2 separate regions of the Homo sapiens genome follow, and region 1 is linked to region 2. The links are contacts of gene promoters, found by promoter capture Hi-C in blood cells and fetal thymus (Javierre and others, 2016). All regions are on one chromosome and are shown on one strand. The core of a region is centred on a gene start or on the middle of the fragment in contact, and the rest is flanking DNA. Distances in the headings are between cores, read along the strand shown. Region 1 overlaps ZNF384 (zinc finger protein 384). Region 2 holds the start of CD27-AS1 (CD27 antisense RNA 1).

Region 1 (6,870 bases), core at 1,136-3,635, 220 kb after region 2:
AGTCTCACTCTGTCGCCCAGGCTGGAGTGCCATGGCACGATCTTGGCTCACTGCAACCTCTGCCTCCTAGGTTCAAAAGATTCTCCTGCCTCAGCCTCCTGAGTAGCTGGGATTGCAGGCGCCCACCACTATGCCTAGCTTATTTTTTGTATTTTCAGTAGAGACGGGGTTTCACCATACTGGCCAGGCTGGTCTCGAGCTCCTAACCTCATGATTCACCTGTCTCGGCCTCCCAAAGTGCTGGGATTACAGGCGTGAGCCACCGTGCACGGCCATCAATTTTTGTATTTTTAGTAGAGATGGGGTTTCACCATGTTGGCCAGGCTGGTCTTGAACTCCTGACGTCAAGTAGTCTGCCTGCCTCGCCCTCCCAAAATGCTGGGATTACAGGCGTGAGCCACCGCACCCAGCCTTAAAGCAAGTTACTTAATTCTCAAAAAAGGTATCTTCAGAGTTATCTAGTCCAATCCCTTCACTAACAGTTGAAGAAGCACCCTGGCCAACACTGGTTGATGGTAGGCAAAGGGCTGAAGTCCAGGTTTCATGACCACATTCTACTCCATAGTACTACAGCTCTCCTGCATAAATCAATCTTGCACCCCTTAACCGGTTATGATTTCCACAAGGTAACAAATACACATATGTATACACATTGCCAACTGCAAGCCCCTCTTCCACAGACTCAGGCAGGAGTGTAGGTCCTTTCAAGAGGCTTCCATTTTTCTTCCATAGGGAGCTTAGCTGTTTTGTTAACACATAACCAAAGCCTTGCTCTCACATATTTAGGCAATGCAATCCCCATGACAGAATGTGTATGTAGAAGTCCTCATAAACCAGGATTTCACTGGAGACATCATGAAACTGTACCCTTCCATGACTGGAGAATTGCACAAATGGGGCATCATCACACAAGCACTTGTTCATCACACACACACTCTGGTATAAATCCTCAGTACTGTTCTTGGACATCTCCCCAAATACCTTTTCCGCATGCTCGCTCACATCAGTAGCTCCACTGCCTCTGATCCTTTTACATGAATTTATTTCTATACAATGTTCTAAAAACACCCCTTGGTTTGTACATAAGTTTTTTTCTTTTTTTCTTCATTTTTAAATTACTTTATAACAACTGGTTTCCTGATTTTTTTTTTAATTTCCTTTCCTCTGAAATCTGCCATGATTTAAAAAAAAAAAAAAAAGACAAAAAGAAAAATGCTGTGGCTAGAGGACAGGGGTGGAGAGAGGGAAAAAAAGGACAAAAATAAACAAAACATCAAATATGAAAATTCTCAGAGATAATGCATTTATAAACACAGAAATGGTTACAACAAAGATGGCCGTGATGAGTGAGTATAATATATTTATATATATATATTTATATATAAATCCGTGTCCGGCATCTGACTGTGGCACCTAGGGAGCTAAGTCCAGTCCTTGCGTTTGCCTTGAACTCTCCCTTCTCCGCAACACCCCTGTTTTGGAGTTTCACAGATAACACAAAGCCTCCCACAGCTCCTTGGGGGTGGGTTGGGGAGACTGAGAGTATAGGGTCTTTGTAGGCAGAGAAGGAGAGAGGCTTCAAGGAAATCCGTAAAACCATAACACACACTTCTAAGCCACCTGTGACCAACTTGGGAATTTCTGGCCCCTTGGGGACCACATCTCAGCCCTTGCCCCCTTCAAATAAAAGGAGGTCTAGCCCCTACCCCAAATCTCCTTCTACCAGCAGTCAATAGGAAGCAAAGTGAGACGATGTAGGGGAAGAAATGGCTCTCAGGGACTGAGGCATTTGAGAAACCTCTGTTCTTTTGCAGGCAAGAATAGAACAAGAGGCTGGTTGCATTTGGGGCTCCCTTTTCTCTGTTATCTGGGAGGGCCAGCCTCTAGTCTTACATCAGCCCAAACTTTGAGGATAAGGAGGGTAAGGATAGGGTAAGTGGCCACACTGGACAAGGTTCTATGAGGTCATAGCAAATCCTTCCCTTGAGCACCGACCCCCAGTTTTAGAAGCTTTGCTTGGGAGGGGAGGCTGCTGGATGACACCATCAGCTCAGTATTCCTTTGCAATCAGGAGGGCTGATGTTCCTTTTGAAGAAGAGTTCAGAAAAAGGATGGTATCCTGTGAAGGAAAGCCGTGACAGAGGCCCAAGGAGATGGAGCCAAGGCCTGTCAAGGAAGAAAAGGACTTTTCCCACCAAGAGTTGGAGAAAGAAGACACCAGGACTACTTCTTCCTCTTCCCAGTGGGTGGCAGCACGGATCTCTAAGAGCTGGCCAGGTGCTCCACCTGGATGGTGCTGGTGGTGACAGTGAGGCAGATGTCCTTATGATGCTCCGCCGTCTTATACGGGGTCAGGTCAAAGGAACACTGGGGTGGAGGGTTGGGATTGCTGTCCCCACCACCCCCACCCTGGGGGGCTGCCCCAGGAGACTGGAAGTGTGGTGGTGGCTGTTGCTGCTGCTGCTGCTGCTGCTGCTGCTGCTGCTGCTGCTGCTGTGATGCCTGGGAGGCCTGGGCCTGGGCCTGGGCTTGAGCCTGAGCCTGAGCCTGGGCTTGAGCTTGAGCCTGGGCCTGGGCCACTGCTGCCGCTGCTGCTGCTGCCTGCACCTGTTGCTGAAGATCAGGCGGGTTGTGTTTGCGCATATGTTTCATAAGGTATGTTTCCTGAGGGAGATGGTAAAAAGAAGTTGAGGGATAAAGAGGAAGGAAAAGAGATTACTTGTAACTAGCACCCCAGGCTCTGATTCTGCTGTAAGCAGAGTAAGCTTTATACTGGTTTTCTGGAGCCAAGACTGAGCAAAACTCAAGTAGCACTTTCAGTGGCTCACTACTGAGAAAAAAAAGAGAGGAACCTTTAGAAGTCACTCAACATTCAACTGGCAAAGGAATGAGCTGCTATTTTTTTCAAAGACCCCTGAATGAAACAACTTTACAACCTTTTCTGGAGTCTCATGGAAAATATCTAACTGGGCCAGGTGCGGTGGCTCACACCTGTAATCCCAGTACTTTGGGAGGCTGAGGTAGGTGGATCACTTGAGGTCAGGAGTTTGAGACCAGCCTGGGCAACATGGTGAAACCCCATGTCTACTAAAAATACAAAAAGTTGCTGGGCATGGCAACATGCACCTGTAATCCCACCTACTTGGGAGGCTGAGGCAGGAGAATCGCTTGAACCCAGGAGGTGGAGGTTACAGTGAGCCGAGCCGAGATCACACCACTGCACTCCAGCCTGGGTGACAGGGCGAGACTGTGTCTCAAAAAGAAAAAAAAAAAAAAAAGAAGAAGAAAATGCCTAACTGAAATCCAGCTCCCCTCAAAATTTCAAGTGGCTTTATTTTGCCTTATGTTTAAGTAAAATGAAGAATTACAGCTTATGCGTCTCTATAGGATTAGGAGATCAGGCATCCCCTAAATTCCTCAGAATGGGTCTAATTAATTTCTGAATATTTACCTGTTCTGCTAAGTTGGAGCTAGGGAGGCAGGGTATTCACTGCAACAGATCTCTACCCAGAAAATGGGGTGAAGTGGACTGTACTCTTAGAGGACTATGAGGAAGGAGAGAAGAAACGGAGCACTCACTGATGTGTATGCCCGACTGCAGATAGTGCAGGTGTACACCTTGGCATGCTTCACTGTGTGCGTAGACAGGTGCACCTCTAGTGAGGCTGCATCCGTGTACGCCCGATGACAGTTGTGGCACTTGAAGGGTTTATCTTTGTTGTGTTGCCGTCTGTGGGACTGAGAAAATTGGGAGAAACCAGAATGAATACATTGTACTCTTTCCTCCTGCCCCCTTGACCTCGATGGAAAGCAAAAAGGTAGGTGTCAGGCCTCCCAGCTTCTCCCTCTATCTGAAGAAAGTAGAAATTGTTTCAAATGAAACTTGAGAAGCTACAGGCTAAGGGTGGAAGCATACCTCATGTAGCACATACCAGGATCCCAAGACAGCTTATGCCCGTCTCACCAGTCCAGTGGTTCTTAAAATGAGGCATGGGGATCTTTAGGGAACACTAAGACCTTCACAGGGGGCCCACAGGGTCAAAACTCTTTTTTTTTTTTTTTCCCAGATGAAGTCTCTCACTCTGTCGCTCAGGTTGGAGTGCAGCGGCACAATCTCGGCTCATTGCAACCTCCGCTTCCCGGGTTCAAGCGATTCTCCTGCCTCAGCCTGCAAGTAGCTGGGACTACAGGCACATGCCACCAGGCCTGGCTAATTTTTTTTGTATTTTTAGTAGAGACAAGGTTTCACCGTGTTGGCCAGGCTGGTTTCCAACTCCTGAGCTCAGGTGATCCGCCCGCCTCCGCCGCCCAAAGTGCTGAGATTACAGGTGTGAGCCACCGCGCCCAGCCAAATCTTTTCAAAATAATAAGACAATGTTTGCCTTTGTCTCTCTTGAACCTGGGAAGTTGCAGTAAGCTGAAATCACACCACTGCACTCCAGCCTAGGTGACCCAGCGAGCCTCTGTCTCAAACACGCACACGCGCGCGCGCACACACACACACACACACAAACACAAAGATGAAAAACCTAACTGAAATCTTGTTCCCCTCAAAATTTCAAGTGGCTTCATTGTGCCTTATGTTTTACATGTAACCCTTACAGAGGTTACATGATGTGTGATAACACAATAGGCCAGATGCAGCAGATCTGAGAATCTACTCATCTTCTAGCTTAAGACATTAAAGACCCCTGTGCCAGGTGCGGTGACTCATGCTTGCAATCCTAGCACTTTGGGGAGGCTGAGGCGGGAGGATGGCCTGTGTCCAGGAGTTCGAGACCAGCCTAGGGAAGATAGCAAGACCCCATCTCTACGAAAATGAAAAAAACAGCCAGGTGTGATGGTGCATGCCTAGAATCCCAGCTACTTGGGAGGCTGAGGTGGAAGGATCACTTGAGACCGGGAGGCTGAGGCTGCAGTGGGCCATGATAACACCACTGCACTCAGCCTGGGTGACAGAGCAAGGTCCTGTCCCAAAAATAAAAAATAGACACCTGCAAAAATGTATAATAATGCCATTCTTCTCACTCAGTTGTTTTTGGAGGGTCTTGGAATATGTTATTTATGTTAACACACAATGGGTTTATTTTTGTTCTTTCTAAACAGATTACTATTATAAATATTTTTCAGGTTTTTCAGTTTTACAACGTCTATGTAGACAGCTATTACCCACATAAACAAAAACTCTTTGGGTCCCTCAATAATGTTTGAGTGTAAAGGAGTCCTGAAAACATTTGAGAACCACGATACTATTCAAATGGCCCCATGTCTCAGACTCAAGGTCTTGTGTGGAGGGTGGAACATTTACCTGCAGATTGGAGAGTTGTGTGAAGGCTTTCTCACAGCCTGGGTGTGCACATTTGTATGGTCTATCACCAGTGTGGATTCTGCACAGGATAAGAGAAAAAAGGGAAAGAATGTCAGCAAGACCATTTAGGAACTGGCTCAACAAATCTTCTCCAGGCCCATCCTGCTCTCCTAAGGAGGCACATCAGATGGGCCTCCAAGAGGCACCAGCCTTCCTCTCTGATGTGGATCAGGTACTGATGATTTGCTTCTGGTCAATGCCTGCATCACTCAGCTCAAGCTGAGGCTCCTCTCTGCTGGGGGAGGAGAGACTGAGGACTTGGCACCCAAGGAACAGGCAGCCCACAATTTGGCATTCAAGTCAGCTCCTACAGTAACTGTCCTAACGAACATTCAAGAACACAAGATAAACACAATGGCAAGGAAAAAGAAAAGCAGAACGCGTCTTCCTTGGCCCCACCTTATGGCCAGAAACAGTCCCCTCAGCCTTGAGCATCACTTCCAGAGAATGTTATGGTAACAAAGAAAAGCAGTTACACTGATTGTGGAGAGTAGTAGTGATATTAATGGAAACTCATGAAAACTAAGTGCTTTTTGCAGCCCAGCCCCCTAATGACAGGAAATGCCTAGTTTAGTACCAATGTGACCTCTCTCCCCAACACCACAGGGCCCTCTGCTAAGATGAGCCAAGGACTTGAGGGTGCAGTGACACCTGCTCCTCATCAGCGACTTCAGAACCATCTCTATGACCAGGTGCTTTTCGGGACCTCTGGTATAAAATCTCAAAAACATCACAGGACGTGTCTCTTATTTGTGAGGAAAGCCTGACTCCTCCTCTTCTCAAAGCAAGATGTCTGATCACTTTAAGGTGAGATCATCACATCCACAAGAAGCCGGGTGAGACGGTCTATGGCCTGTAAGTCTGGACTCCAGTTCAACTTGAGATAGCACCAAAGATCATCACTTCTAGTTGGCAGGTTCCCTTCTTCCTAGTCACTCCAGATTCACGGGATAAACACTGGGCATCTTTATGAAGCATAAGCGTTTTCATTTTCTGTTTGCTGATTCTCTCTGAACATTTAGTACGTGTTTTCTTTTGTTCTCTACTCCTGGCATCCCTCAGAGCCTTGCTTGTTGCTGTGGGTGTCACCAGGCTGGTGCCCAGCTAATGTCTGATTTTATTTCCTGTTCATAATTGGTGCCCTAAGGGCTAGAGGTATGGTCTTCTCCACTCAAATGCCTCTGTTTTGGCATCAAGGGGCAAATCTTCCAAGATGGGTACATGAGTATTTTCAGGGAGGAAAATTAGAGAAAAGTTGTTTCTACTCCAGGTACGTGTCTGTCTCCCATGGATCAGTGAATATCATATAGTCACTGCAGCTCCCCGACGTAGCTCTTGCCCCAGAGAAGCTCTGTGTCCACTTGAATCTCCAGTGTTGTTTGGTCTTCCTTCTCCCAGATGCCAGCCAGGTCTCTCCTCCAGCCAGGTCTCTCCCCCGCCCCCCGCATGCGGGTTGTTGTGTGTGTCCGGGGCGGGGGTGGGGAGGGCATGCCAGCGGGGCG
Region 2 (4,261 bases), core at 1-2,500:
TCCTCTTCCAAACCCTTCGCTGACCGCTCGGTCGTCTCAGGCCCTGAGCCCACACCCTCAGCCCACCCACTTACCTTATGTCAGTGGTAAGTTCCAGGCAACTCTCTGTGCCATCACGTGGGGTAGCGGTGATACCCCAACCAGTACTCCCCACTCCTACCCCTAGATAAGGTCAGCCTGTTTCTGCCTTCCCATCCCATCCAGCACCTCTCAGGCCTTCAGATGTGCCCTATGGGGTCCCCTGCTGCTACTCATTCTGTCTCTGTTTTTCCAGAGATGCTGGAGGCCAGGACAGCTGGGCACATGCAGACTCTGGCTGACTTCAGGCAGCTGCCTGCCCGGACTCTCTCTACCCACTGGCCACGTGAGTTTTCTCCTTAATCCCCACCGCTAGAGAGAATGCATACACGAGGGGCCAGGAGGGAAGCCAGACAGAAAGCTCCTAGGATTAGGGATAAGAGGAGGGGAAAAAGCAGAGTCCACTGTTTAGGAGAGGAGTTGGCCAACGGTGGCGGGTGGGATAGAATAAGGTGGGGGAAAGGGGAGAGGCAAGGTGACAGGAGGGCTGGGCTGAGGGAGCCAAGGGCTAGACCCTCCCCTAACCCCTGTGTGTCCCCTCCTATTACAGCCCAAAGATCCCTGTGCAGCTCCGATTTTATTCGCATCCTTGTGATCTTCTCTGGAATGTTCCTTGTTTTCACCCTGGCCGGGGCCCTGTTCCTCCATCAACGAAGGAAATATAGATCAAGTAAGAGACAGAACACAGGCCTCCGGTCCTGCCCCTGCACCACACCCCACTGGCTCAACCCCACTGCCCACGCCTGGAATCTCACTGAAACCCACCAGCTCCACTTCACCAGCCTTGGTCCTACCCCTTCTCTCCCCTTAGCTGGCGTGCTCCTGACACCCCTCCCCCAAGCGCACCCGCCTCTACCCATCTCCTTCTCCCGTCTCCCCCTGCCCCCACTGCTGGCCAAGACTCATCGGATCTCCTTCTGCAGACAAAGGAGAAAGTCCTGTGGAGCCTGCAGAGCCTTGTCATTACAGCTGCCCCAGGGAGGAGGAGGGCAGCACCATCCCCATCCAGGAGGATTACCGAAAACCGGAGCCTGCCTGCTCCCCCTGAGCCAGCACCTGCGGGAGCTGCACTACAGCCCTGGCCTCCACCCCCACCCCGCCGACCATCCAAGGGAGAGTGAGACCTGGCAGCCACAACTGCAGTCCCATCCTCTTGTCAGGGCCCTTTCCTGTGTACACGTGACAGAGTGCCTTTTCGAGACTGGCAGGGACGAGGACAAATATGGATGAGGTGGAGAGTGGGAAGCAGGAGCCCAGCCAGCTGCGCCTGCGCTGCAGGAGGGCGGGGGCTCTGGTTGTAAAACACACTTCCTGCTGCGAAAGACCCACATGCTACAAGACGGGCAAAATAAAGTGACAGATGACCACCCTGCAGCTCTCCAGCTTCCTCTCTGAAATCCCAGTCCCAAAATCCAGTTTCCTGGCCGCCTCCTGGCTCAGGTCAGGATCTGGCAGAGGAGGTTTCTCAGCCGGTTATGTTGGGGCCTGCTTAAGGGCGGGGGTGAGAAAGGTCCCCAGGCTACTGTGGATCCTGTGTCTGACTTCAGATCCCCTTTTCCCACAGTTATAGCTCCACTTTTTTGGGACAGGTGGGGAGCAAAAGGGTGCAGAGGTCAGGTCTTGAAATCACCAGGGGATTTCCGGGTGAGGTGGGTGGTGAGAAAGGAAACAGCAAGCAGGGCTCTGGCAGCTGCTGCAGACGGCTTCACACAGGGACGCGGGCTGCCATCTTGCTCTAAGTGAAAGTGAAAGAAAAGTCGGCAGCAGAGGGAACAGGGAAGAAACCTAAAGGCTGCAGGCTGCCAGGTGTGCTTGGAGAGCCCCCTTCTTCCGCCGGGCCTCGCAAGCAGCGTAGGACTGTGGAGAAGGGCGGTGGGCAAGGAGGGAACTCGAGAGCAGCCTCCATGGGCACACAGGAGGGCTGGTGCCTGCTGCTCTGCCTGGCTCTATCTGGAGCAGCAGAAACCAGTGAGTCTGGGAGTCGGGGAGAGCTGGCTGGGAGAAGAGCTACTGAAGCCCCAGGGTGCCACCCTCCCCGAGATTCCAGAAGAGCAAAGGGGCCGGGGATGACCCCATCGCCTTCTAAGCCCAACAGGGGAAAGGCTCAGCGGCTGGCAAAGGAAGGAACCAATAGTGTGTGTGGAGGGAGGGTGGGGACTCCACAGGGAAAATGCTAAAGAGGGGCTGCCTCTGTGGCTGTGGTCAGGAGCCACTGTCCTACAGAGAGGGCACTGGCCTGGGAGCTGACACTTCAGAAGAGGAAAGGACTCCCCAGGTGAGGAAATCACTTGGAAGGTGACCTTGAAGGCGGGGGAGGGGAAGGCTACCCGAAATGGGAGAAAGCAGTGCAGGCTGTCAGTGCCCCAGCAACAGTAACTGTCCAGTCTCCTCTCTCTGCGGTGGCACTTGCTTGTTTTCTGAGAATTCCTTTGACTGAAAAGATAGTCTTTTATTCAACAGTTGGAAATGCAAGCATAAACTCCTCTGAGCAAGGCAAATCCAGGACTTTAACTCTCACCAAGAAGTATTTGCCTGGACTAGCAGGTGCTCTCCAGAAAGCTGGTTTGGGGATGACGGGAGAATAGAGGGACACAGAAACAGCTAGGATCTTGGATGGCAACTTTTACCCTTTGATGACTCCACAGCTTGAGGGCGGGGGCAGGAAGCAAGTGTGGAGTAGCTTTCTGGGGAAGGCGGTGCTCACCCCAGCCTTTGTCTGCAGAGCCCCACCCAGCAGAGGGGCAGTGGCGGGCAGTGGACGTGGTCCTAGACTGCTTCCTGGCGAAGGACGGTGCGCACCGTGGAGCTCTCGCCAGCAGTGAGGACAGGGCAAGGGCCTCCCTTGTGCTGAAGCAGGTGCCAGTGCTGGACGATGGCTCCCTGGAGGACTTCACCGATTTCCAAGGGGGCACACTGGCCCAAGATGACCCACCTATTATCTTTGAGGCCTCAGGTAAAAGCCTTCCACCTGTGTCCTTGGTCCTCCCGGGCTCCCTCCACCAGGACAGCCCAGGTCCCGATTACAGCCACACATACTGCCTCCCGTTGGCCCTGGTGTTCTCACGCTAATTTGCCCTCTGTGTGTGCCCTGCTTCTCCCCAGTGGACCTGGTCCAGATTCCCCAGGCCGAGGCCTTGCTCCATGCTGACTGCAGTGGGAAGGAGGTGACCTGTGAGATCTCCCGCTACTTTCTCCAGATGACAGAGACCACTGTTAAGACAGCAGCTTGGTTCATGGCCAACATGCAGGTCTCTGGAGGGGGACCTAGCATCTCCTTGGTGATGAAGACTCCCAGGGTCACCAAGAATGAGGCGCTCTGGCACCCGACGCTGAACTTGCCACTGAGCCCCCAGGGGACTGTGCGAACTGCAGGTAAGAAAATGAAAAGCAAGGCCAGGTGTGGTGGCTCACGCCTGTAATTCCAGAATTTTGGGATACCGAGGTCGGTGGATCACCTGAGGTCAGGAGTTTGAGATCAGCCTGGTCAACACGGTGAAACCCCGTCTCTACTAATACCAAAATTAGCCGGGCATGGTGGCGGGTGCCTGTAATCCCAGCTACGAGGGAGGCTGAGGCAGGAGAATCGCTTGAACCCGGAAGGCAGAGGTTGCGGTGAGCCGAGATCACACCATGGCACTTCAGCCTGGGCAACAAGAGCGAAACTCCATCTCAAAAAAAAAAAAGAAAAGAAAAGAAAAGCAAGTCACAGAAAGTTTTGCTTTTCTAAAGTGGTAAGATATGGGGCACAGAAGAAGAAAGGGAACAAATCCACCTCCATCCACACTGGTCACCTCAGGGCACCCCTAGGCCTTGGTCCTTTCTTCCTAAAAACCCCTGAGTCAGGCCAGGTGCGAAGGCCCATGCCTGTAATCCCAGCACTTTGGGAGGCCAAGGCAGGTGGATCACCTGAGGTCAGGAGTTCAAGACCAGCCTGGCCAACATGGTGAAACCCCCTCTCTACTAAAATACAGAAATTAGCCGGGCATGATGGCAGGTGCCTGTAATCCCAGCTACTCAGGAGACTGAGACGGGAGAATCACTTGAACCTGAGAGACGGTGGTTGCAGTGAGCCGAGATTGCGCCACTGCACTCCAGCCTGGGCAGCTGAGTGAGACACCGTCTCAAAAACAACAACAACAACAAAAACCCTGAGTCCACAAGAGAATGCTTCGCAGCCCCTACC

The links. Contacts are between HindIII fragments. The CHiCAGO score rates a contact against its expected background, and 5 or more counts as called.
Region 1: a contact is called between a fragment that was not itself captured here and the fragment with the promoter of CD27-AS1 in region 2, in 1 of 17 cell types (naive CD4 T cells). The highest score is 5.8, in naive CD4 T cells.

The regions. Positions count from the first base shown.
Region 1 is chr12:6,665,452-6,672,321 of GRCh38, forward strand. ZNF384 (zinc finger protein 384) reads right to left here. Exons shown (of 12, transcript NM_001385745.1): 10 at 5,309-5,387; 11 at 3,580-3,738; 12 at 1,026-2,664. The coding sequence ends at 2,263. Among named protein-coding and RNA genes, the nearest start is that of ING4, 5.8 kb to the left of the region's middle. The HindIII fragment of the contact is 755 bases long and covers 2,009-2,763 here.
Region 2 is chr12:6,450,267-6,454,527 of GRCh38, forward strand. CD27-AS1 (CD27 antisense RNA 1) reads right to left here and starts at 1,251. Exons shown (of 6, transcript NR_015382.2): 1 at 75-1,251. It overlaps CD27 (CD27 molecule), which reads left to right. Exons shown (of 6, transcript NM_001242.5): 3 at 1-86; 4 at 275-364; 5 at 629-748; 6 at 1,002-1,447. The coding sequence ends at 1,126. It overlaps TAPBPL (TAP binding protein like), which reads left to right and starts at 1,776. Exons shown (of 7, transcript NM_018009.5): 1 at 1,776-2,046; 2 at 2,801-3,031; 3 at 3,181-3,450. The coding sequence starts at 1,983. RefSeq lists enhancers at 586-795, 886-1,045, 1,476-2,075. The HindIII fragment of the contact is 9,942 bases long and covers 1-4,261 here.